Regions from separate parts of the Homo sapiens genome. Here all the other regions are linked to region 1. Evidence: promoter capture Hi-C in 16 types of primary human blood cells and fetal thymus (Javierre and others, 2016). All regions are on one chromosome and are shown on one strand. Each heading gives the region's core, a stretch centred on a gene start or on the middle of the fragment in contact. The rest is flanking DNA. Distances are from core to core; before and after follow the strand shown. Region 1 holds the start of FAM168B (family with sequence similarity 168 member B). Region 2 overlaps RAB3GAP1 (RAB3 GTPase activating protein catalytic subunit 1). Region 3 overlaps CCNT2 (cyclin T2). Region 4 overlaps CCNT2-AS1 (CCNT2 antisense RNA 1). Region 5 holds the start of MAP3K2 (mitogen-activated protein kinase kinase kinase 2). Region 6 has its middle 4.8 kb from the start of SFT2D3. Region 7 overlaps WDR33 (WD repeat domain 33).

What was found. Contacts are between HindIII fragments. The CHiCAGO score rates a contact against its expected background, and 5 or more counts as called.
Region 2: a fragment that was not itself captured here is called in contact with the fragment with the promoter of FAM168B in region 1 in 5 of 17 cell types (fetal thymus, total CD4 T cells, non-activated CD4 T cells and 2 more); the score reaches 9.9 in fetal thymus.
Region 3: a contact is called between a fragment that was not itself captured here and the fragment with the promoter of FAM168B in region 1, in 13 of 17 cell types (fetal thymus, activated CD4 T cells, total B cells and 10 more). The highest score is 20.9, in fetal thymus.
Region 4: a fragment that was not itself captured here is called in contact with the fragment with the promoter of FAM168B in region 1 in 1 of 17 cell types (M0 macrophages); the score reaches 8.5 in M0 macrophages.
Region 5: the fragment with the promoter of MAP3K2 here is called in contact with the fragment with the promoter of FAM168B in region 1 in 6 of 17 cell types (total CD4 T cells, total CD8 T cells, fetal thymus and 3 more); the score reaches 13.3 in total CD4 T cells.
Region 6: a fragment that was not itself captured here is called in contact with the fragment with the promoter of FAM168B in region 1 in 1 of 17 cell types (monocytes); the score reaches 7.5 in monocytes.
Region 7: a fragment that was not itself captured here is called in contact with the fragment with the promoter of FAM168B in region 1 in 1 of 17 cell types (monocytes); the score reaches 7.5 in monocytes.

Annotation. Positions count from the first base shown.
Region 1 is chr2:131,092,093-131,094,868 of GRCh38, forward strand. It overlaps FAM168B (family with sequence similarity 168 member B), which reads right to left and starts at 1,368. Exons shown (of 7, transcript NM_001009993.4): 1 at 1,122-1,368. RefSeq lists a silencer at 822-1,541. The HindIII fragment of the contact is 2,381 bases long and covers 438-2,776 here.
Region 2 is chr2:135,056,830-135,059,605 of GRCh38, forward strand. RAB3GAP1 (RAB3 GTPase activating protein catalytic subunit 1) reads left to right here. Exons shown (of 24, transcript NM_012233.3): 3 at 1,182-1,257. Among named protein-coding and RNA genes, the nearest start is that of RAB3GAP1, 5.9 kb to the left of the region's middle. The HindIII fragment of the contact is 595 bases long and covers 1,161-1,755 here.
Region 3 is chr2:134,923,392-134,926,167 of GRCh38, forward strand. All of the region lies in intron 2 of CCNT2 (cyclin T2), which reads left to right. Among named protein-coding and RNA genes, the nearest start is that of CCNT2, 6.0 kb to the left of the region's middle. The HindIII fragment of the contact is 4,940 bases long and covers 1-2,776 here.
Region 4 is chr2:134,907,207-134,909,982 of GRCh38, forward strand. All of the region lies in intron 1 of CCNT2-AS1 (CCNT2 antisense RNA 1), which reads right to left. Among named protein-coding and RNA genes, the nearest start is that of CCNT2-AS1, 10 kb to the right of the region's middle. The HindIII fragment of the contact is 3,815 bases long and covers 1-2,776 here.
Region 5 is chr2:127,386,725-127,389,500 of GRCh38, forward strand. MAP3K2 (mitogen-activated protein kinase kinase kinase 2) reads right to left here and starts at 1,251. Exons shown (of 17, transcript NM_001371910.2): 1 at 728-1,251. It overlaps MAP3K2-DT (MAP3K2 divergent transcript), which reads left to right and starts at 714. Exons shown (of 4, transcript NR_187129.1): 1 at 714-828; 2 at 2,157-2,274; 3 at 2,387-2,461. RefSeq lists a silencer at 671-1,540. The HindIII fragment of the contact is 12,520 bases long and covers 1-2,776 here.
Region 6 is chr2:127,695,317-127,698,092 of GRCh38, forward strand. No RefSeq gene overlaps it. Among named protein-coding and RNA genes, the nearest start is that of SFT2D3, 4.8 kb to the right of the region's middle. The HindIII fragment of the contact is 241 bases long and covers 1,323-1,563 here.
Region 7 is chr2:127,721,836-127,724,611 of GRCh38, forward strand. WDR33 (WD repeat domain 33) reads right to left here. Exons shown (of 22, transcript NM_018383.5): 11 at 2,498-2,608; 12 at 1,418-1,512; 13 at 1,123-1,209; 14 at 756-895; 15 at 1-153. Among named protein-coding and RNA genes, the nearest start is that of SFT2D3, 22 kb to the left of the region's middle. RefSeq lists an enhancer at 1-727. The HindIII fragment of the contact is 2,078 bases long and covers 392-2,469 here.

The DNA.
Region 1 (2,776 bases), core at 118-2,617:
GAGATGGCGCCACTGCACTCCAGTCTGGGAAACAGAGGGAGACTCCGTCTCAAAAAAAAAAAAAAAAGTGCTCAATTGATCCAGGAAAAGAAACTGTCTAAGACAACTTGGGTATAATTTCCCTTTAAACTACGGAACTCCACCAAAGTAAGCCTGCTTTGTAAAGACAAAGAGAAGCAAGATCTTCACAATTTCTGCAACACTAGCTTCAAAATTAGAATAGCCTTACACTGCTCAAATCTTGGCTGTCAAAGCAAAAATAACCCACTCCTTCATCTACAAGAGCTTAAAAATGTGTCCTGTTTTTGCCAAAACCAAAAAGTTTTATTTAATCTAGAATCTTTCATCCATAGTATTTGAGAAAAGTGATCTCAAATTACACAAGGATGACCTGAAAGTTTAAGGAGTGGAAACTATATAAACCTTTTTATTTATAAAGCTTCCTTGCATGCGAAAACACTGCAAAATATTCTTGTTTGACTTTAATGATTAAACATTAACTCAAACAGCCCATGAGATGCACACTTCATGTTCACATACACTATAAAACAGAAATACCCTTATTTGTGGACGTCGTAAAGGCGCACTGCACTCTTTTTTCAAAGTTAACCCAGGCTAGGCCACGAAACGTCCTTTCTGAAGGAAATCTTAAAAATCTGTAATTTAAATCGTGCCTTTTCAAGCTGGAAGGAGAACGCTCAGATTCCGCCAAGCAAAAAAATAAAAATAAAAATTATCTTTACTTCGTGGGTAGACAAAGTGAGCAGTTACACATTGGAAATGACTATTGTCACAAAGCTCTGCCCCCGGGTTTCACGCTCGCATTCCTGACGGCTGTGACCCCGACCTTTAGGAGAACGCCCCGCGCCGCGAAGCCACCTCGGCCACCTAGGCGGCAGGCCCGCGCCGCCCGGACCGCACCTGCACGCGTACGTGTCCGGCCGAGCTCCGCCCCCGGCCCCCGCCCGGCCTTGCCCGCGGCACAAAGCGCAGCCCAGGCCGGTCCAGACGCCCAGCGACCCCGAGCCGCGGGCCGACCTTGGCGCCGCCCCGAGCCGGCCGCACAAAGCGCCGCACTTCCGGCCTGGACGCGCAGTCGCCCGCTGCCCGCCCCCACTCACCGCGCCGCGGCGGCGACCTGGGCCTCAGTGACCAGCGCACGCCGGCCCGCGGCGGGCTTGGCCGTGGGGCGAAACAAGGGGGGCGTGCCGAGGAGACCTGCTACGATAAGAGGCTGACCCTCCGAGCCCCGCGTCTCCGCCGCCTCCCGGACGCCGCGCTCCCGCTCGCTCGGCTCCGCTTGGCCCGGCCCGCCTCTCCGCAGCCCGCGCTCCCCGCCGACGCTGCGCAGCCACCGGAGCCGCCGACCTCACTTCCGCCTGAGCGCGCCGCGACGGGGGCGCGCCGGGCACGTGACTGCGCAGCGTGCTCGCTCCCGCCGGCGCCCTCGAGACGCCCGGATGGACGAGCGCGAGCGCGAGCGCGGAGTGGGCCGGTCCCAGTTGGCGAAAGGGCCGGGTGTAGCTGTAGTTTTTTTATTAACTGTCTGTGAAAAAAGTATTTAATTTATATTTTGAGATAGTCCCGCGCCGCAGAAACCTTTGTGTGTGCCCAGACGCCAGGGCGCGGATCCTCAGGCCGCACCCGGGAGTCGAGCACACCCCGGGTGACCGCCACTACGGGGTCGGAGCGGGGCGGAGCTCAGCTCACAGATTCTTTGCCAGTGCGGAGGCTGCGGGCGCCCGCTCAGGAGTGCAGATTTTAGAGAATGCAAGTCAGCGTTTCAAGTGTAGAAGTGCGGGATCATTTCTATAGACAAGAGTTCAGGGAAGTGTACTAGAATGTTAGGGGGTTTTTTGGTTTTTTTTTGAGACGGAGTTTCGCTCTTGTCACCCAGGCTGGAGTACAATGGCGCGATCTTGGCTCACTGCAACCTCCGCTTCCCGGGTTCAAGCGATTCTCCTGCCTCAGCCTCCTGAGTAATTGAGATTCCAGGCGCCCGCCACCACACCTGGCTAATTTTTGTGTTAGTAGAGACGGGGGTTTCACCATGTTGGTCAGGCTAGTCTCGAACCCGTGACCTCAGGTGATCCACCCACGTTGGCCTCCCAAAGTGCTGGGATTACAAGTGTGAGCCACCGCACCCGGCCAAATGTTAGTATTTTTATGTAAGGCTTAGTGTATAGTTACAATGATTTGGTTAGTTCAGGGTGTCTCTCTGGGGGAGGTATGTTTATTATTTCGTATTAAAGAGGTGCGTGTCTTGGTGTTTGTGTTTGGGGTGTCGTCTGGTCTGAGCTAGGTACAGGACGACAAAGGAGGGAGTTATTGCAATAAAGATTAGTGATGGAAGGGAGGAGGCCTGGCTCTGGTCTTTTTTCAGTCGTTTATGAAATAAAAACAGATGGGCGCGGTGTCTCACGCCTTTAATCCCGGCACTTATAGGAGGCCGAGGCGGGCAGATCACGAGGTCAGGAGTTCAAGACCAGCCTGGCCAACATAGTGAAACCGCGTCTCTACTAAAAATACAAAAATTAGCTGCGCGTGGTGGCGCACATCTGTAACCTTAGCTGCTCTGGAGGCTGAGGCAGGAGAATCTCTTGAACCCGGGAGGCGGAGGTTGCAGTGAGCCGAGATCGGGCCACTGCACTCCAGCCTGGGCGACAGAGGAAGACTCCGTCTCAAAAAAAAAAATAAAAATAAAATATAAATGTGATAAAAGGACAAGAAGAAAACATGGGGAAATTCCTTTTTAGTATTGGAGTAAAGAAGGCTT
Region 2 (2,776 bases), core at 208-2,707, 4.0 Mb after region 1:
ATCATAGATTTATTATTACTATCTTAAAACATAATTATTAGTTCATATTAGTTCATAATGTCACTGAAGGAAAAAATCTGTTGCCTTTCCATACAGTTTGACTAGAATTAACTCTAGTACTCTAGCAGTACTTCCAGGTGTTTAGAGAGCAATGTTGCTGTTAGATTGCATCATACTTAGCTTATATAAGAAGTCAACTTAGAGTAAGAATAATTCTTCTGAAAATGTCTTTGACTGAGACTTGACAGTTTTCATTTACTGATGTTGAGCATGTTGCTACTCAAAATTCAGTTCTCTTTTTAATAGGCCTTCTTGACCATTGGATTTAAAGATTGGTGACTAGTTTTAAGACCTGTCACTTATACTTAAAGTTGACATATTTACTTGCAATTTCTTGTCAGCTGTCCATTAAAACTTGTTTTAGTTTCATGAACCAAGTTACCAAATAATATTTTCTTTTTTTGTTGGGGGCTGGGGGGGTAAATCGGAATTCCTAATATATTTAAAGGAAAAGTTTATTTAAATAGGTCAGTTATTGTGGGTAGGAGAGAGATGATTGGTTTCATAATTTTATTTATTTATTTATTTTTGAGATGGAATCTCACTCTGTCGCCCAGGCTGGCGTGCAGTGGCGCGATGTCCGCTCACTGCAACGTCCGCTTCTATGTGATTTTTGTGCCTCAGCCTCCTGCGTAGCTGGGATTACAGATGTGTGCCACCACACCGGGCTAATTTTTTTTGTATTTGTGCTGGGCTGGTCTTGAACTCCCAACCTCAGGGTTAGGAATTCAAAGGGCTGGAATTACAGGCATGAGCCACTGCACCCAGCCCATAATTATCTTTAATAGTATCATTTTAGTCTGTCAGTTTTTATTTGTGCCCCAAATTTGTTTTATTCGTTTTATTAGAGATTCATCAATTCTTAATTTACATTTTATAGAAGGCAGAATGCTTTTGTTGGGTAAGCAATAGATATAAATGAATCAAAACCTAAGAATTCTTGAATGAAAGAAGATTATTTCTCTTACCCCATATCCATAAATTAAGCTAGCAATACTAAATGTACTGAGTCCTCTCTGGTCAAATTGTTAAAATATAAAAAATACCTTTTTAAAGAAATTACATAATAATAGGAAAAAAGGTGTGCTGTTGTATTTAGAAGCTTTCTCCCTACTTCCTAGGTTTATTTCCAAAGTTGAAGAAGTCTTGAATGACTGGAAACTGATTGGAAACTCTTTGGGAAAGCCACTCGAAAAGGTCAGATCTATTTGCTGGTGTCTCTAAATGACTATTTACTTTGAAACCTCTATTTTCCAGCCCTTTGCTGCATTTGGCACATTTGAATTAAATGTTTTTTAAAGTTACGTATAATCTATAAACATCAAATAGCATTTGGAAGAATTTGGATTTAAATCTGTGGCAAATGATATATGTAAGACATTTGTGAAATGTTTAATAAAGTTATATATATGTGTGTGTGTATATATATATATATAAAATGTCATTCTTTGTGAGTGATTCTTTGTGAGTGAAGTTTGCTTCTCTTTTGCCTTCTCCCTTGGAATGTTAAAACATGTTTTTAAAAGTTTTTTATTTGGTCAGAGAAACATTGCAGTGACCATCTTCTTTGGTAGCATATTTTGCTTACTAATGAGGAAAATTCTAGTACTTACCATTGACTTACTGTAGTTAACAACTATTTCACTCAGTTTTTGTATTTTATAATATCACTAATAACATCCCCCTTCCCTTTTAAGCTTTTTAACTTATGGATGTTTTAAGGATTTTATTTAAGAATGAAAAAATTACTCTTTGAAATTGAGGTAGAAATCAAATTCTAATCTAAAGTATTGGTAGTTTTATTCATAAACCACACCCCAAATGTTTACTGAAGAATGTACTCTGAGAACAAACCTGGATTCACTGTGAAGGGATCTAACAATTTGATTTTAAGTTTATGTAGATGCTTAGTTTGTTAGATAAATTCTTTTGAAATAAAATTTATGGTTGGTTTTATTACAACTCAATATTACTAACTCAGTGATAACTTATTAACTCAGTAATTATTAATTCAATAGTAATTTAATTATAATTTACCCTGTGTTAGGAACTTTGAGTTCTCAATATTTGCTAGGGGTTTTCAGCTTTGTGATGGTGATACTATCAAAAAAGAGACTGTCAAAATGCATTAGGAAGCCAGGCAACATGGTGAGACCCTGTCTCTTAAGGAAAAAAAATCTCCTTATTTGTATCAATATGAACAGAAAAAGTAAGACCACATATAAAAAATACATCATTCAAAGACTCTTGGCAATATATACATTGATTTACTACACTACATGTGTGAATAAAGAAAATGTGACGCTTTCAAACACGGGTCATTCTACTCCACTTGAAACAAATACATAACAATTGATATAGATGCCAATAAGATTAGAGGCAAAATAAGCTGGATATAGCTAGAATAGGAAATGATTTACACTACTAAGAAGAGAGCTAAACCGGGTACTTATGAGCTCTGATATTCTTTCATTCTTTGATTTACATGTATTTACTGAGTACCTGCTATGTGCCTGATGTGAAGAAATTGTGAACAAGATAAGATCAGTGTTGCCATTGAACATAAATTCTAGTGAGGGTGATCAGTAAAGAAACATTAAAATTTTATTTTATTATTATTTTTTAAATTGATATATGATAGATGTACATATTTTGGGGTACATGTGATAATTTGATACATGCATATAATCAAATCAGGGTACTTGGGAACCCTTAA
Region 3 (2,776 bases), core at 77-2,576, 3.8 Mb after region 1:
TTTCATTGTGAAGTCTAAGCAGGTGTTTATAGCTTACTTCTCTTTCTGCCTTTTAGTTTAATAAAGCAATAATTAATCCAACAATAATCTTATGCCCAAGATCCATTAGCATTACTTGGAAATACTGCAGTGCTGTCCAGTAGAACTTTCTGCATAGCGCAAGTTTTGTGTATCTGTGCTCTTCAATGTAGTAGGTACTAACCTGTAAATTTGAGACGATTAGCCTAGATGATTTTTAAATTCCTTTTAAACTATAAATTACCTGGTTGAAATTTTATTAAGATCTCACTATGCCAGGCACTTTATATTTGTCTTGTTTTCTCAGGTAAAGTATTCTCCTAAGGAAGCAGACGCAGTTACCAAGTGACTTGTCCGAAATTAAAACTATTACGTGGCTGGGATTTGAACCCAAGTCCTTTGCTTAATCCCAAACTGTAGTTCTCACTTTTTCCTGTTCTAGTATATTTCAGAAGTAGAGCACAGTAGCAATTTATGCCAGTGATTTGTAAGATTTATAAAGTAAACAATGAAAAAACCTCAGATTTTTATTTGCCCGCCTCATTGCACTAAATCCAATGAGGTCCTCTTTATAAGTCCCAAATTCCTCTTTTTCAACTATACATCAGTGTTAGCATTTATGCATTGTGTATCACTGTTTTTCCTTAGGGTGCTTTCTCTTTGCTTTCATGTGACTGTGCTCTGTCAGGTTTTAAGACTCAGCTGAAGTTGCTACTCTTTCATAAAGCATTCCCCAGATAACTCTCTTTTCCATTTGTGAATTTATCTCTCTGATCTTACCTTTGAATCTTATTCACATCCAGTTGTATTCCATCTATTTGGGAGTTTATAGTGCTGTAGTGTAACTGTACATATATGAGATGAGTGTTTTCTTTTTAATTGTAAAATATATAAAACCACCAAACAAATGTATAGTGGATTATTATAAAACAACCTTGTAATCACCAACCAAGTCAAGAAATAGAACTTTGCCAACTACCCCGGAATGTCTCCACGTGCTCAACTCAGTGTCGATCCCCTCCCTCCAAAAGTAACCAGTATTCTTTTTTATTTTTTTGAGATAGGAGTCTGGTCTTGTCGCCCAGGCTGGAGTGCAGTGGTGCAATCTCGGCTCGCTGCAACCTCCGCCTCCTGAGTTCAAGTGAATCTCCTGCCTTAGCCTCCTGGGTAGCTGGGATTACAGGCATGCACCACCATGCCCAGCTAATTTTTGTATTTTTAGTAGAGACGGGTTTTCACCATGTTGGTCTGGCTGGTCTCAAACTCCTGACCTCGTGATTCCCCCCACCTCGACCTCCCAAAGTGCTGGGATTACAGGCGTTAGCCACCTCGCCCGGCCCCAGTATTCTTACTCTAATCACTTTCTTTATAGTTTTAGCACCCAACTCTGCATTCCCAAATACCATAGACCTTGCTCATTATTAAAAATTTGGTAAGTCTTTGAAGTCTCTCAGTATGCATGTTTCCCCTCCATCTTTTTATGTCAACTAAGTTGTAGCTGTTGAAGGACCCTAGAGTGTGTGACCTGTAGAGTTTCCAACTGTCTGAATTTTGCTGATTGTATACTCATGGTGCAGTTTACTGTGTTCCTTTTTTCTTGCATTCCTGGAAAAATTGATGATTAGATCCAGAAACTTAATCAGACTCCTGTTAGATCCCTTAGGCAAGGCTATAGATGGTGTTAATGTTCTTTGGTCAGAAGGTCTAAAGTCTGGTTGTCTCTCTTTGTAGTGTTAGTGGCTGCTGATATTCAATGCCTGGGTCCTTTCATTCATTGGTGATACTCTAATTCTGTCATTTCTTTCTTACAAATTGGTATTTTTGTATTGGAATTCTTGATTCATCTCATATGGACACCCAGTGGCACGTATCATATAGGATAATTACTGGATTTTTGCCCTTTTTGTGATATAATTCACATATTGTACATTTCACCCATTGAAAGTATGATTCCGTGGGGTTTGTGGGTTTTTTTAAGAATATTCACAGAGGTGTGCATCAATTTTTAGAAGTCTTCACTACACCAAAAAGAAACCCCCAACCCCGCAGTCATTTCTCCCTATTTTTCCCCCAGCCTATTAATAGACATTTCATTAATGGAATCCTACAGTATGTTGTCCTTTGTGACTGACTTCTTTCACTTACCGTGTTTTCAAGGCTCATCTATGTTGTTGTATTTATTCAGTAGGTTGTTTACTTTTCTTGCTGTACTACCCATTATTCCACTGTATGGCTAGACCACATTATATATATATGTTCATCAGTTGGTGGGCATTTGGATTGTTAGCCACTTTTTGGCTAATATGAATAGTGCTCTTAAGAACATTTGTGTACAAGTTTTTGTGTAGACTTGTGTTTTTGGTTTCTCTTGGGCTTATACCCAGGAGTAGAATTGCTGGATCATATGGTAACTCTAGATTCCAATAATATTGGAAACTTGGATAGCTGCCTTTTTTTTTTTTTTTTTTTTTTTTGAGACTAGGTCTCCCTCTGACACCCGGGCTGGAGTGCAGTGGCACAATCATGGCTCACTGCAGCATCAACCTCCTGGGTTCAAGTGATTCCCCCACCTTAGCCTCCCAAGTAGCTGGAATTACAGGCACATGCCACCACACAGTTAATTTTTTTAATTTTTTGTAGAGACAGGGGTCTCACCATGTTGCCCAGGCCGTTCTTAAACCCCTGGACTCAAGCAGTCCTCCTGCCTCAGCCTCCCAACACTCAGCCTAAAGCAGCTCTTTCCAGTGTGATTTGTCAC
Region 4 (2,776 bases), core at 101-2,600, 3.8 Mb after region 1:
AGGCAGGAGAGAACACAGCAAGAAAGAAAACCACTGTGGCTGAAGATGACAAAGGAAGACATTCTTGGTAAAAAGTGACAAGCTCATGTGAGGCCATAAGTCAGTTGAGGAATTTTATATGTTGAAAAGCTGTGAGAACTCACAAATGGGAGAAAACATTTGCAAACTACCCATCTGACAAGGGATTAAGAACCAGAATCTATAACGTGCTCAAACAACTCTACAAGAAAAAAATTTAATAATCTGATTTTGAAATGGGCAAAAGATTTGAATAGACATTTCTCAAAAGAAGACATACAAATGGTAGACAGGCATATGAAAATGTCCTCAGTATCATGGCTCATCAGAGAAATGCAAATCAAAACTATAGTCAGATATCATCTCACCCCAGTAAAAATGGCATTTTTCCAAAAGACAACCAATAACAAATGCTGGCAAGGATGTGGAGAAAAGGGAACTCTTGTCCATTGTTGGTGGGAATGTAAATTAGTACAACCACTATGGACAACAGTTTGGAGGTTCCTCAAAAAACTAAAAATAGAGCTACCATGTGATCTAGTAATCCCACTGCTGGGTACATACCCAAAAGAAAGGAAGACAGTATATCAAAAGGATATCTGCACTCTCATATTTGTTGCAGCTGTGTTCACAATAGCCAAGGTTTGGAAGCAACCTAAGTATTCACCAACAGATGAATGATTAAACAAACTGTGGTACATATATACAATGGAGTACTATTCAGCCATAAAAAAGGATGAGATCCTGTCATTTGCAACAACGATGGAACTGGAGGTCATTATGTTAAGTGAAATAAGCCAGGCACAGAAAGACAAACTTTGCATGTTCTCACTTATTTGTGGGAGCAAAAATTAAAATAATTGAATTTACAGACATAAAGAGTAAAAGGATGATTACTAGAGACTGGAGTGGATAATTGGGGAATGGGGATGGCTCATGGGTACCAAAAGTAGTTAGAAAAAATGAATAAGACCTCATATGTGATAGCACAATAGGTGACTATTATAGTCAATAATAATTTAATTATACATTTAAAAATAACTAAAAGTATATAATTGAGTTGTCTGTGACACAAAGGATAAACGCATGAGGGGGATGGATACCCAATTTACCAAGATGTGATTAATAAGCATTGCATACCTGTATCAAAATATCTCATGTACCCCACACTACTATGCACCCACAAAAATTAAAAATTAAAAAAAAAACAACAAGAGTTGGAAGCAAAGAAGCATGGATTGGAGTCTTACGGTCACAAGCCAAGAAAGGCCTAGAGTCACCAAAAGCTGAAGAGCCTAGAAACAGATTCTCCCCAATAGTCTTCAGAGGGAGCACAGCCCTGCTGTTTTAGTCCAGTTTTCATTGCTCATAGCAGGATACCTGAAACAGTAATTACTTCTTAGAGTTACAGAGGCTGAGAAGTCCCAGGTTGAGGGGCCACATCTGGTGAGGGCCTTCTTACTGGTGGGGACTCTGCAGAATCCCAAGATAGTACAGGGCATCATATGGCAAGGGAGCTGAACGTGCTAGCTCCAGTCTCTTCCTCTTCTTATAAAGCCGACCAGTTCCATTACCATGATAACCCATTAATCCATTAACCTATTAATCCATTCATGAGGGCTCTGCCCTCATGACCCAATCACCTCTCAATACTGCCACATTGGGGATTAAATTTCAACATGAGTTTGGGAGAGGACAATCATTCAAACCATAGTCCCTGCCAACACATTGATTTTAGACTTCTGGCCTTTAGAATTGAGAGATAATAAATTTCTCTTGTTTTAAGTCAAAAAACAATACCAAAAGAAAACAAACAAATAATAACAACAACAACAAAGAAAAGCAATGAGAAGGTTTTTAAGTAGGGGATGGCATTAATTAGAGCTGATTTTTTTTAATCCTGCTCCTGTGGGATAGAATTCAATTTTGAAAAGATTCCTCTGGCAGGCTGCAGGATGACAACAGCTTGCAGGGGAGCTTAAGTGAAATAGCTTGGGCCAAGATGGTGGTAGTGTTGCTGGTGGAGAAACATACGTAATAGACTCCAGAGATAATAAGGGTCAACAGAAAGGCTTTGGTGATGGGTTAGATACGGGAGATAAGGATTACAGATACCAAAGATGACCCCTAAGTTTCGGACTTGCATAACTGGAAGTAGTGCCATTTTACTACAAGAGGCACAGAGAGAAGACCAGGTTGGAAAGACAGGATTATGAGTTTAGTTTGGGGAAATATTGATTATTAATGCCTTTGAGACACACAAAAGGGAAAGTCGAGTGTGCAGACTTATGCAGTTTGAATTTCCTAGCACACAGTAACATCTCTACTAGCATTCACTGGATAAATAAATAGTAAAATAAAAATAAGTAAACAGGTCTTCCTCCTAAAATGAGCAAAGAAAGGAACCGGAAATCAATCTTCACCGAGTATGTTAGGAATTCATGCAGTTCTGAGTGTAATCCAAATGGCAAGGCCTCACAAATTTGTGACTATCTACAATGACTTGAGTCTTCACTATCCTCGTGAGCCTTTCTTCTTGGCTCACCCGCCTAGTAAGCCCTTCTCCTTGGCTAATAGATGGGTGTCTTCTCCCTGTGTCTTCATATGGTCTTTCCTCTGTACATGTCTACATCATGACTGACTCTTCTTCTAGGACACCAGTCATACTGGATTAGGGCCCACCCTAATGATCTCATTTTAACTTAATTCCCACTTAAAAGAACCTGCATCCAAATATAGTCACATTCTGAGCTACTTG
Region 5 (2,776 bases), core at 1-2,500, 3.7 Mb before region 1:
TAGGGAAAACTAAACTGTATCTGTCTATGTGTTTAGAATTTATCCCATTAAAGAAACTGCCCAGTTAGTCTCATTTTCTAAACGTATTTATTTTTTGCAAGACGAGAAATACAGTCTTACAAAAAGACATCTGCATATTCGAACCAAGCCTTCCTGGATTACTACCTTCATGACCTTGGACAAATGCCTTAATCTCTCTGAGCCTCAAGTTTTCACCTGCAAAATGGGGCAATTTACCCACCTCATTGAGCTGGGAAGATGAAGAGAGATAATGCATGACAACTGCCGGGCGCAGACTAAGAGCACCCTAAGTGCTACCTAAATATTCCGTAAAGAGAAAAGGGGGAAACAACCTTACATCAAAAGATTACCACACTGTGACAGTGCAAAGACAAGCACTTTTTCGCTTACTGCATGTACCATTTCTGCTTCATCCCAAGACCAGATGCAACCTTTCTTCTAAAATCTCTGCAGGGTACGTGTCTGACAGCTAACACAGCCCAGCAGCCTACTTCGCGCTGACCTGGGCTTTAGGACTGGATGCAGGGGGCCCAAGGTCCGCCCTCCCGCAGCTAGGCAATCACCCAGCGAAATCTCCGCCCCTGGAGCGGCGCTTAGGCCGCCGCCAGCCCCCCTCCCGGCGCCCAGCCCGCGGCCCCCGACACACACGCGCGCACACACACACACACACACACACAAGCGCGCGCGCACGCACACACGCACGTACCGGCTGCTCCGCAGGGACGTAGAGAGCCGCAGGCCCAAGGAGGGGCCGCCCCCGCCGAGCCCGCCCCTCCGCCCCAGCGCGGCCTGTCACCGCGGCCCCAGGTCGGGGGCTGCCGCAGGGCCCCCGGGGACCGGAGGGGCGCGCGAGGAGTCGGGCGCGGGCCTTGGGGCCAGGCCCGTCCCTCTTTCACATGAAGCCCGGGCCGGGCGGGGTGGCGGGCGCGTGAATCCTCGCAGCCGGCCGGGTCCTCCTGGCGCTCCTCGGCACTTCTAGCCGCTGCAACCCCGAGGCCCGCGGGAACTGGGCAGGAAAGGAGGAAGCCGCGGGCCCGCGTCGCTAGAGACCGGAGAAGAGGCGGGAGTGGCGACTCTGCGGACAGGGGCGCCGAGCGTCCTGGTCGTTGTTTTCGTCGCCGCCGCGGGCCGTGCAACCCCCGAACGCTGCGCCCAGCGGCCGCGGCACCCTCGTCAGGCGCCGCCGCTGAGGGCAGGCAGCCCGGCAGCCACTACACACGGACCCGTGACGTCGGGCGTAGCGCGGCGCACGTCACGGCCGCTCGCTCGTGCGCGCGCACCCCTCCGCCCGGCGGTAGCGGAACCCGCCGCGGGCGCGCGCCCGGCCCAGGGGAGTGGGTCGGCGCCTGCGCAGAGGCCCGCCACGCCCACACACAGGCCACCGCCCCCACCGGCCGGACGGCGCGGGGATTCCCAGTCCTGGCTCCGCCCCGGCCTCGGCCCCGCCCCCGCCCCTGCCCCGGGGCAGCCTGTGCTGTTCCGTGTGCGCGGCGCATACGCACCTGGGTTGTCTCGAGCCTGCGGTAGTGGCCAGATCCCAGACATCCGAGTAGATCCCGTGAAAAGGTCTCCCACGTGGGCTGTGGACAGGGCCCAAGGGTAGCAGAGCTAGCAGAGGCAGTGACGGACTGTGTGGCAGGTCATTTGCAAGGAGAAAAGCCGTCTGCCTCTTAATTTGTGGCTCAAGTTTCAGAATTTTTTTCCTGAGGGACTTTAGAAATTACTTCAGGCTTGCCACCTAACCTTAAACCACCCCCTTGGAGACTGGCTAAGTGTTATTTGTGTTTTCTGTTTAGTTCTTATCACCATCGATACTTGGTTATGACTGGTTGTGTACATTGGTTAGCCCAGCAAGTATTACTTCTCCAGCTTAACAGATGTGGAAACTTAAGCCCAGAGACATGAGTTGACACCCCACCCCCAAAGCTAGAGTCTAAAACCCTTTCTTTCGCTCCTCATCTCCCACAGGATAAAATGCAAATTAATCAGACTAGTGGTGAGGCCCTCCGTGGTGTGACTAACCTGCATCCCGACGTTTTCACCCTACTTTGATCCAGAAAGCACCTTTCCGCCCCATCTCTTCTCCTTTCCTTAAATACCCCTTACAACTTCCTGTACCATTCTTCCCTGTTCAGCTTCTTCTTGGTTTCTTCGTACATTCTGGATCCACCCCTTTCATGCATATTCCAGACCACATTTCCACTGGAGCAGTTGAAATGAGAGAGATGGGAATGGGACTCACCCGAACCAGAGGTAAGGAGCTACCCAACTTGGGCTCTGAGGGTCAAGGGAGCTGGCACTTGTGGGGCAGAGACTGAGGGAGAAACTGTTGTGTAATGTCAAAATATCTCTGGGTTTCTTCCAGGAATTTTTATTACAGACCCATTAACAGAGGTGTCAAAGTCACAGGAACAAGGATGTGCACCTCAGAAACACAGAGGTCAGTGGAAAATCAGTTTGCTTCTATTTGTTTAAAAAATGGGGGACTTATGCATAAATCTAAGACCTTCTTGAATCTAACATTCTAAGACCTGTATGCCACAGAAAGGAGGGTCTCAGAACGCCGGAGGATAGTATTTAAATCTTAAATATCTATATTGTTCTCCACAGTTACTGGGTCACCACATAGCAGGCATTCAATAAAAACGTGTTTGTTTACTAAGTAATCTAGAGATAAATTTTTTCCCCTCATAGTGCTGCTCATTTCTCCACTCCCTTCCCTCACTTACCACCCCGGGGACTTCATTCACCTCTG
Region 6 (2,776 bases), core at 193-2,692, 3.4 Mb before region 1:
AATTCTTAAAACATTTCTGAGTCAGTTTTTATGAAAATAATTTTCCTTTTTGACCATTAACATATTAGAAGTTACATTTCCCCAACTTCTGAAAAATTCGGGACTATTCCATTTATATAAGGTGCTTATTTATCTCTAAGGCTATCAGAACAGGGCCCCTTTAGCGATTTTAAATCTAATCTAGCGGGGTAGGGCTGCAGCCAAAAGCACGTGAGAGCGGCCCGCGGCCGGCGGGGTCCCGGGACAGGCCCGCGCGGGGCCGAGGTGCCAGGGCCCCCAGAGAGCGGGACGGGCGGTGCCAACTGGACAAGCCGACGCTACGAAGGCCTGAGGGACAGCGAGGCATCCTGGGAGGCGCCCTGGCTCAGACGCTCCTGTGGGAGGGCGTCTGCGTCCTCAGTTTCCCCAGGACGCGTAAGGAGAAAACCGGGGGAGGGCCCCGCACGCCGCTGCCCCCCCACGTCCAAGAGCCCGACCGTTCGCCCGCGCCCCTCGAGGAGTCTGCCCATCCCCAGCAGCACGCGAGCGCCGCCAGCGCTCCCTGGGCACCCGCTCGCACTCAAGTGCAGGCAGCGTGGTGACAATGCCAACTGCGCCCCCTATCTCTGACAGGCTCCAGAGGGGCAGTGGGAATACAGTAGCTACATGTGGCTATGATAAATATATATTAATAGTATATTATGTATGTTACATATAATAATGTGGGTACATTATGATGTTTTAAATATAATTCAATATAAATAATGAATTAACTAAAGTTAATTAAAATTTAAAATTCAGTTCCTCAGCTGCCCCGCAGGTGCAGAGGCTACATGTGGCTGCTGGTCACTGCCTTGGCCGGAGCACCTCCCTCAGTGCAGAAGCTCTATGAGCCAGTGGCCACGGAGAGGCTCTGCTGCCCCAAGGTCGGGGGGACAGGAGACATCATTTTGTGGCAAGTGCTTTGGCACTGTGCCTGAGGAAGATCACCAGGGCCAGGCGACCAACCCAGACAGTGACTGAGCCATGATGAATCAGCCTGGTGAGCCAACATTTGCCACAAAGCCTGAGCCACCCAACTTGAGGTCACCCGGAAAAGCCAAGGCAATGAAGACAGTGACAGGGGCTGGGAAGCAGGACTCAAAGAAATGAGACTTGAGAAGACCATCACCACGCAAGCAGTTAGGTATTCTTTTAAAAATTAGTAAATAAAAGAAGAAACTATAACTGCGAGACCAGCGCATACTGGGCCTACCTTGTTGATGACAGAATGTCGCATTGCTTTGTAGGTACAACAGAGCCAAAACTGCAAGCCATGTTGCCCAGGCATGCACAATGGAACAAGCTTTGACCTCTAACAATACCCAGAACCAATGACTCCTCCCCTCGGAACAAAGAAGACCAGGACAGGACTGGAACCTGAACATGGAAATCTTTCAGAAGCAGGGATGCGTCAGCCTGGGAGACTGGGGCCCAAATCTACCTTGACAAACCTTTCCATAAATCGTTAAATTTGAAGCCCGCCAATCAGACCCTGCCAAGCCAACACTGCTCAATCACTTCCCTTGCCCTCTGATCCCTTAAAGCTTACCCCAGACCTCAAACTGGGGAGACAGATTTGAGCCCCACTCCTGCCTCCTTGCTTGTCAGTTTTGCAATGAAACCTTTCTTTTCTCAAAAGCTGCTGCCAGTGTTACTGGTTTCGCTGTGCCTTGAGCAGTGAGCCCATTTGTTTGATAACAAAACTCCTCAAGGCATTGGCAATGTCACCAGTCAGTGACAGGGCTGTGTGGGCCCTGAGGACTGACCTGGAGGAAGGGGATGCTTGGGAGAGGGAGGGGAAGGAGCAGTAGACAGAGGTCCACCCAGCAGAGAGCCCAGGCTCAGCAAAGCCACAGAAGAAGGGAGTCTCCAAACTGCTAGGTCCAGAGGGACCCCACAGAGCATCGGGGAGAGCCACAGGGGCGTAAGGCAGGGCCTAGAAGGCTGGGTGGCAGGCAGGGAATTAGAATTTAATCTGTAGGAAATAAGGAGCCACTGAAGAATAGTAGATAAAGAGGACATTACTAGATTTCAGTTTTGAAAGGGGGCACTGGTGGGCCTGGTGCGGTAGCTCATGCCTGTAATCCCAGCACTTTGGGAGGCTGAGGTGGGCGGATCACTTGAGCTCTGAAGTTGGAGACCACCTGCACCATCTGTGGAAACCCCGTCTACAGGCAGGCGCCTGTAATCTCAGCTACTCCAGAGGCTGAGGTGGGAGAATCGCTTGAACCCGGGAGGCGGAGTTTGCAGTGAGCCAAGATCGCACCATTGCATTCCAGCCTGGGCAGCAGAGCAAGATCCTGTCTCAAAAATGAGGGGGTGGTTGGCGCTAGCTGACCCGCCACACTGAAGGAAGGGAGAATGTAGTTCAGGTTGCGGCCCGGCAGGGGACAAGTAAACCCAGCTGAACAGAGAGGGCCATGACAGACAGGGAAGGGAGGCAGACGCCACTCTGGAAAGCCCTCAAAAGAAGCGTGGATAACACTTGCTGGGCTCTGGGAGAAAATATAATTTCCTGCAAGTGGGAGAGGATTTGGTGCGAAGGGTGCTGCTTCCTCAGGTCAAGGTGAAAGACCTCGGCAGAAGAAAAGGCTGGCTGTGGCCCCTTCCCCTTGGGGAGGTGGGAGCTGGGACCTGCCTGACCTTATGCTAAAGTCCAACAATACTGGAAGGGAGGACGCGGGCATCTGAAGAGCCCCTGCCCAGGATGTGCAGATGCGGTGGCTGCGAGAGCTGAGGCCAGGCCCTGCCTGGT
Region 7 (2,776 bases), core at 181-2,680, 3.4 Mb before region 1:
CTCCAGAAGTTGTGGGTTAGTATATTGTAATGTAGCCATTTCTTGCTCAATTTCTGCTTGTGTTTTTTTCTTCTCTTCCAATTTAATGTCTTCTTTTCTGTCATTCAGCACCTCATTTGGAGCAGGAATTGGAACTTTATTTTGCATCCAAGCCTTGGGAAAGAAGAGAATATTAAAATGTACGCTAAGTATGAAAATTACAATGATAGAATGAGAAAACCACTCTACAATGTCATCTGCTCAATCTAACCTCTGAACCGATTTTATTTCTTTTTACCTTTTCTCCATGACTCAAGTACATGACTCATGCTAATTCTTACTGACATATTACTAGGTAGAAATTACTATGGTGATAAAAGCTGCAAGACACTGCATGTTATTAAGAATGCAAAGCTTGCCAGCCTCTTCACAGGGTACATGCACTTTGTGTTGAGGGGACAATTAAAGCACAAGATAGATAAACAATGGAGAAGAGAAGCAACATACTCCCATACTCCCTCTGCTCCATGCCTCTTTCTTCTATTTCCTCTCATAGCATGGATGATAATAAGCAGGTGAGGACAGAACAGAGAAGACTGATAACAAACTCAATACAACTGCAAAGCAGTAGATGAGAACCATGTCTAAGAGTACGTGAACATGGGAAAAATGCTCCAGTACAGAAACACCTTCAACAGTGAGATAATCCAAGAGAAACCTCAAACTAACCAACCAAAACCTCTCTGCGTGGATGAGGTGGAGTCACTTTTACTTACCTGCTGGAACTGAGCAGGAATGGGTTTTGCATAAGGAACTTTCTTCTGAGGTACTTTTTTCTGATCCTTTTGCATCACTTCCTCCATTCCCCAATCTAAACCTGGAATTGTCATTTCAATTTCATTTGATTCATCTTTCCCTGTAACCGTAAAGAAAAGTGGTTTGCCTCTTAAATAAAAGAAATTGGCCACTTGATCAATGAACACATTATTGGAAGAATAGATTTTAAGTATTATGTCATTTATATAATTTTTATCAACATTTCTCAACATAAATCATTTTGGTATTTCAATATATTTATCAGGAACATAAACGGGTCAAGAAAAAATTTGTAAAAATTAAATGTGTCTGTGTAACTTCTCTTACCCATCTGTTCTTGTTCCATAGCTAATTTTAGTTGTTCTGGTATTCCCATTCCTGGAATTACTGCCAGGCTATTAGGTTCGAGGTCATCTATAAATAGTAATACACCATTGTCAATAGAGAATTTACAAAAGTAGCGACTGATAAAATTAATGCTTTATAAAAATGAATGTCACTGATGATTTATAAATAAATCTACTATAAAATTAAAATTCATTTTGTATAATCTTCCCAACATCTAACACTTCTGTAATAGAATACCAGATTTCAAAGAAGGACAGATGTGCAAGAGTCTCACCATATTCTACTCCATCTTCAGACATTCCAGGTAAAAGGTTTAGATTATATCGATCTCGCATTTTATCACCTGGTCGGTTTCGAGTCCAGAATTTGCTGTAAAAATAATTAAAGGAGAAAAGAAGCATGGCTTCACTATTTTTTTGGGCACTAAACAGTACTAGGCAGACCCTTGGTAAACACAACACATTTTTACAATTTGTTTCTTCTACAAATTTAAAATGTGAGGTCATACACTTTGGCTCACATCTGTAATCCCAGCACTTTGGGAGGCTGTGGCAGGAGGATTAAGTCCAGGAGTCCAAGACCAGCCTGGGCAACATAGCGAAACCCTGTCTCTACAAAATAAAAATTAAAAAGTTAGCTGGGTGTGGTGGCACACACCTGTAGTCTCAGCTACTCACGAGGATAAGGCGGGAAGATGGCTTGAGCCCAGGAGTTTGAGGCTACAGTGAGCTGTGATCTCACCACAGAACTCTAGTCTCGGTGACAGAGTGAGACTCTGTCTCTTAAAATAATAATAAAAATAAAAATAAAATGTGGGGCCGGGCAAGGTGGCTCATGCCTGTAATCCCAGCACCTTGGGAGGCTGAGGCAGGAGGATTGCCTAAGCCCAGGAGTTTGACATCAGCCTGGGCAACATGGTGAAACCCCATCTCTACAAAAAATGCAAAAATTAGCCAGGTGTGGTGGTGTGCTCCTATAGTCTCAGCTACTCAGGAGGCTGAGGTAGGAGGATCACCTGAGCCCAGGAAGGTTGAGGCTATAGTGAGCTGAGACCGCACCATTGCACGCCAGCCTGGACAGAGACCCTGTCTCAAATAAATAAATAAATAAATAAATAAAAGTGGAAAACTTCTGTTTTAAGTCAGAAGGCAAAACAAAATTTGAATAGCCAAAACCATATTCAATACCCAATCTCTTTATTGCAATATAAGTATTTGTAAACCACTACAAAAATATTCCCAAGAATAAGTTGGAATATAAATTACTATATCAATCAACCAATAAAAATAAACACATACAGTATTTATTTCCTGTTGCTCCATATAAAGCTTTGCTATTTCAATATAAAGCTTACCTAGTATGGTCATTTGAGCCTGAGCAGAGAATATGCCCAAGAGGATGCCAAGCCAGACTCCAGATCATCCCTTCGTGAGCCATCTCCATCCCACCCACTTCCTTCTCTACCCTGCAACAGCACCAAAGAGAGAAGATTTGTTCACAAAAGTTACCCAGCTTCTCCCTCCCCCTCAAAAAAGACATTTTCTGTTACTCTTAAAATGAAGCTACCAAAGCCTGGACTTGGACTCTGGTGAATTCCACATGTCTCGGGGTATTGGCTTGTCATTGCCAAAGG